Linked DNA regions of Homo sapiens: region 2 is linked to region 1. Evidence: promoter capture Hi-C in human tissues and cell types (Jung and others, 2019). All regions are on one chromosome and are shown on one strand. Each heading gives the region's core, a stretch centred on a gene start or on the middle of the fragment in contact. The rest is flanking DNA. Distances are from core to core; before and after follow the strand shown.

Region 1 (2,700 bases), core at 35-2,534:
GGCCCCAGGACACAGTGGTGAGGGGCCCTCAACGCCCAGTGAGGAAGGCCCCCAACACCCAGTAAGAAGGGATCCCAGTGCCCAGTGAGGTGGAGGTCCCAGCACCCAGTGAGGAGGGTCCCTCAGCGCCCAGTGAGGAGGGGTCCCAGCACCCCCTGAGGAGGGTCCCTCAGCGCCCAGTGAGGAGGGGTCCCAGTACCCAGTGAGGAGGGTCCCTCAGCGCCCAGCGAGAAGCCCCCAGCACCCAGTGAGAAGGGGTCCAGTGCCCAGTGGGAAGGGGTCCCAGCACCCAGTGAGGAGGGGTCCCCAGCGCCCAGTGAGGAGGGCTCCCCAGCGCCTAGTGAGGAGGGTTCCCCAGCGCCCAGTGAGGAGGGGTCCCCAGCGCCCAGTGAGGAGGGCTCCCCAGCGCCCAGTGAGGAGGGGTCCCCAGCGCCCAGTGACGAGGGGGTCCCAGCGCTCAGTGAGGAGGGGGTCCCAGCGCCCAGTGAGGAGGGGTCCCAGCGCCCAGTGAGCAGGCGTCCCAGCGCCCAGTGAGGAGGGGGTCCCCTTGAGTACCTGGTGGTGAGGAACCTCTAGCCCTCCAGTGCCCAGGGAGACTCTCAAGTCTCTCAACCCCAGGGCCCCTACCGGCGGGGCATTTCCTGGGGCCTGGCCAGGCCCTGGCTGCACAGCTGTGACCCTGCCCTCCCGCAGCTTCCCGTCCAGCCTGCCTTCCGGGGACCAGGACCGGCTCCTCGAGGGAGGCACAGACCTGAGCCCCTCGGCTCTGGACGCTGCTGCCGCTGGTGTGCCCTCCCCTGACCTCCTGCGGCAGGAACAACACAAAACGGTGCTTCCCCAGAGGCAAGCAGCGGAGGACGAGGAGATGGGAGAACACGGAGGCGAGAGGGAGCAGGCGATGGCGACGCCGACGGTAACTGGAGACCGAGGCGCGCTGCGTACTTGCTGCGTTTTCTGTTTCATCCTCACAGCCGTAGAAGAAACCGAGGCACAGAGCAGTTAAGGAGCAAGAGATAAACAGAGCAGAAGCGGAAAGGAGATGAGAGAGGCAAGGCCAGGAGGGAGAGAGGGAGGGAGGGAAGGAGGGAAGGAGGGTGGAGGTGAGAGGGAGGAGGGAGGAGCAGCCTCCGGACGTACCTGTCGACGCCAGCAGCAGCAGGGAGGTGAAGGTGCCGAGACAGCCCCCACCCAGGGCTGGGGGCGCTCCAGAAACCACCATGGCTGGTGGGGCGGGGGAGCAGGCAGCAGGCTCGAGAGACCCAGGGCGATGCGGGTCAGGGTGTGTAGGTTCCCTGCAGGTCGCCCCAGGTTTTATCCTGGGAGGCGGAATGCCGTCAGACCAGTCCCCAGGTGGCTCCCGCGGCCACCCCGGCTGTGGGTCCTGGGCAGAGGGCGGGGCTGCGGGGAGGAAGCCAGCCGCTACAGGGCTCTGGGGGGGCTCTAGCTGAGACCCCAGGATGTGGCCTCTGGAAGGGCAGGGGAGGGGGCTTGGGCCCAGAGGTCCCTGACATTAATTGTCCAGGGGCAGAGAAAGGTGCCAGGGCACTGAAAGGAAGGGGTTCCGGGCTGGGGAGGGCCTGGGTTTGGAGAGGCTGAAGTCTGGGGTACTGGGTGTTGGGGGTGGTCCTAGGGCCTTAGGGATCAAGGGGGTGCCCAAAGCTCAGTAACGGCTCCCACCTGCAGGGCCCCAGGCCCCTGTGACTCAGCCCAGAGACCTGGCGCAACCCGGGCTTGGGAATCCCGTTAACCCACTTCCCGAAAGCTGTGAATCAGGTGAGTGGCGACCTTGGTGGCCTCCTGGTGGCCGCCCTCCTGTCGTTCCTGGAGGCGGGGCTCTGCCCTGCGGTTCAGACACCTGACAACTCACCTCACCTGGACTCCTGGGAAGGGGAGGAGCCCATGGGCACCAGGGCTCGGCCAAGCAGGGGGGTTGAGAGAAGAGGGGCCCCGGGAAGGGCTGGGACTCCCAGGATTCAAAGAGCTGCTGGGCTGGGCTGTGGGGGGCCGGGTCCTGGGCTGGGAGTGGATTCTCGGTGCTTCCCCCCAGCGGCTGCCACAGTGGCAACCCGGGGCTGAATCCTGTGAGACCTTCCCTGACTCAGTGCCCTGCAGCGCCCCACACTTGGGACACTCCCACCCAAGCAGGGCAGGCTTCCTCCTCTACAAAGAGGCAGGAGCCTGCGCCCCTTCACTCATTCGATCAACAAGCCTCCAGCAGGGCCCTTGCTACCGCCGGGGGTGAATTAAAAACAACCATAGTGTCTGGGTGGGGTGGCTTATTCCTGTAATCCCAGCACTTTGGGAGGCCAAGACGGACAGATCATGAGGTCAGGAGTTCAATACCAGTCTGGCCAACATAGTAAAACCCCGTCTCTACTAAAAATACAAAAAAAAAAAAATTAGCCAGGCATGGTGGCAGGCGCCCTTAGTCCCATCTACTTGGGAGGCTGAGGCAGGAGAATCGCTTGAACCTGGGAGGCGGAGGTTGCAGTGAGCTGAGATCACGCCACTGCACTCCAGCCTGGGCGACAGAGCGAGACTCTGTTTCAAAAAAAAAAAAAAAAAACCATAGTAGTGAATATGTATGTAATAAATATATTTATACAAATATAAATATAGTATTTATATAATAGAGCAAACATTTAGGAGTGCCATGCATTGCCTCCTAATCCTCAAATGTCTTTATTATTCCCACTCTGC
Region 2 (2,700 bases), core at 75-2,574, 500 kb before region 1:
AATTCCCTAATGATGTATAAGGTTGAGCATCTTTTCATATGCTTATTTGCCATGTGTATATTTCTTTTTTTTTTTGTTTGAGACGGAATCTCTGTCGCCCAGGCTGGAGTGCAGTGGCCCAATCTCAGCTCACTGCAAGCTCCGCCTCCCGGGTCCACGCCATTCTTCTGCCTCAGCCACCCAAGTAGCTGGGACTACAGGTGCCCGCCACCACGCCTGGCTAATTTTTTGTATTTTTAGTAGAGACAGGGTTTCACCGTGTTAGCCAGGATGGTCTCGATCTCCTGACCTCATGATCCGCCCACCTCGGCCTCCCAAAGTGCTGGGATTACAGGCTTGCCATGTGTATATTTCTTTAGTGAAGTAACTGTTTAGGTTTTTTGCCCATTTTTAAATCAGGTTGTTTGTTTTCTTATTGTTAACAGTTCTTTGTATATTTCAGATAATAGTACTTTATCAGATATGTCTTTTACAAATATTTTCTCTCAGTCTATGGCTTGTCTTCTCATTTTCTTGATTGATAGAATATTTTGCAGTTTAGGAGAGAGTTTTTCATTTAAAAAAAGTGCTTTTTTGGTTTTGGTGTTTTTATTTTATTATTAATACTTTTAGTGTAGTGTGATCTAGAAATGTGGTCAGTATCATTCAACCTCTTACAATTTGAAATTTTCTTTATGGCCTATACATACTCTGTTTTCATGAATAGTGCATGGGTGTGCATAAGCTTGTTTTTTAAAAAAAATTTTAGAGACAGGGTCTTGCTCTGTCACCCAGACTGGAGTACATTGGCATGATCATAGCTCACTGCAGCCTTGAACTCCTGGGCTTAAGTGGTCCTTCTGCCTCAGCTTCTCGAGTAGCTGGGACTGCAGGTGCGTACCTCCATACTTGGCTAATTAAAAAAAATTTGAGTGATGAACATCTCACTATGTTTCCCAGGCAGGTCTTGAACTCCTGGCCTCATGTGATCCTCTTGTCTTAACCTGTGAGTCACTGGGATTATAGGCATGAGCCACTGTATCTGGCTCTATTTTTTAAATCATATGGGAAACAGAGGTGTTACATACCAAAAGTACAATAATACTAGTTGTTTTTTTTGTTTGTTTGTTTTTGAGATGGACTTTTGCTCTTGGTTGCCCAGGTTGGAGTGCAGTGGCGCAATCTTGGCTTACTACAACCTCTGCCTCCCAGGTTCGAGTGATTCTGCAGCCTCAGCCTCCCGAGTAGCTGGGATTACAGGCGTGTGCCACCATGCCTGGCTAAATTTTGTATTTTTAGTAGAGACGGGGTTTCACCATGTTGGCCAGGCTGGTCTTGAACTCCTGACTTCAGGTGATCCACCTGCCTTGGCCTCCCAAAGTGCTGGGATTACAGGCGTGAGTCACCGCACCTGGCCAATGCTAGTTTTTATAGTTACCTAAAAAGTTACCTTTACTGATAATTATTTATTCATATGGCTTCAAATTACATCTAGCATTTTTTTGTTTCAGCCTGAGGGACTTCCTTTGGCATGCTTCTTCGGGCAGGTCTACTAGAGACAAATTTCTTTAGCTCTTATTTACCTAAAAAATGTCTTAATTTCTCCTTCATTTTTGAAAGATAGTTTCGCTGGGTATAGATTCTTGACAGTTTTTTTTTTTTAAGCGTTTTATATATATCATCCCACTGCTTTTTTGCCTCCCTGTTTTCTGATGAGAAATTAGCTGTTAATCTTACTGAAGATCCCTTGTACAAGTTTCTTCTGTCCTACTGCTTTCAAGATTCTCTCCTTGGGCTGGGAATGGTGGCTCACACCTGTAATCCCAACACTTTGGGCAACAGAGGTGGGAGGATCGCTTGAGGCCAGGAGTTAAAGACCAGCCTGGGCAACCAAGCAGACCCAATCTCTACAAAAAATAAAAAAGTTAGCTGGGCGTAGTGGCATATGCCTACATGCCTATAATCCCAGCTACTTGGGAGGGTGAGGAAGGAGGCTCACTAGAGCCTGGCTGGTCAAGGCTGCAATGAACGATGATCATGCCACAGAGCCAGACCCTGTCTCAAAAAAAAAAAAAATTCTCTCCTTATCGTTAGCATTCGACGGTTTCATTATAATAACTCTCTTTGTGGGTTTTTTAAGTTTCTTGTACTTGGAGTTTGTTGAGCTTCTTGGATCTGTAGATTCATGTATTGATCACATTTGAGAAGTTGTTATTTCATTATTTCTTCAAACATGTTTTTATCTCTTTCTTCTCCTGGAACTTTCACAATGTGTATTTGGTACACTTGATGGTGTCCCATAGGTCCCTTAGGGTCTGTTCATTTTTCTTCATTTTTTTTTTCCTGCTCCTTAGACTTGGTAATTTTAACTGCCCTATCTTCAGGTTTGCCGATTCTGTCTTCTGCTTGCTCAAATCTTTGAATTCTTCTAGTGAATTATTTTGTTTCAGCTTTTATGCTTTTCAGCTCCAGAATTTCTATTTGGTTTCTTTAAAATTTTTCTGTTTATTGAAATTTTCTGCTTGTACACACTTCATTCTTCAGATTTCCTTTAGTTCTTTGTCCATCATCTTCAGCTCTGAGAATATTTAAGACAGTCCATTTAGAAGTTTTGCCTAGTAAGTCCTATGTCTGGGCTTCCTCAGGAATGGTTTGTGTCAGCTTCCTTTTTTGCTGTGAATGGGTCATACTTTCCTATGTCTTTGTATGGTTTGTAATTTT

Evidence for each region. Contacts are between HindIII fragments. The study calls those that stand out against the background at their distance.
Region 2: a fragment that was not itself captured here is called in contact with the fragment with the promoter of PRSS22 in region 1 in 2 of the 25 tissues and cell types used here (dorsolateral prefrontal cortex and spleen).

The regions. Positions count from the first base shown.
Region 1 is chr16:2,856,886-2,859,585 of GRCh38, forward strand. PRSS22 (serine protease 22) reads right to left here and starts at 1,285. Exons shown (of 6, transcript NM_022119.4): 1 at 1,138-1,285. The coding sequence starts at 1,219. RefSeq lists enhancers at 670-1,270, 1,271-1,871, 1,872-2,471. The HindIII fragment of the contact is 21,792 bases long and covers 1-2,700 here.
Region 2 is chr16:2,355,382-2,358,081 of GRCh38, forward strand. It overlaps the pseudogene ABCA17P. Among named protein-coding and RNA genes, the nearest start is that of ABCA3, 16 kb to the left of the region's middle. The HindIII fragment of the contact is 5,660 bases long and covers 1-2,700 here.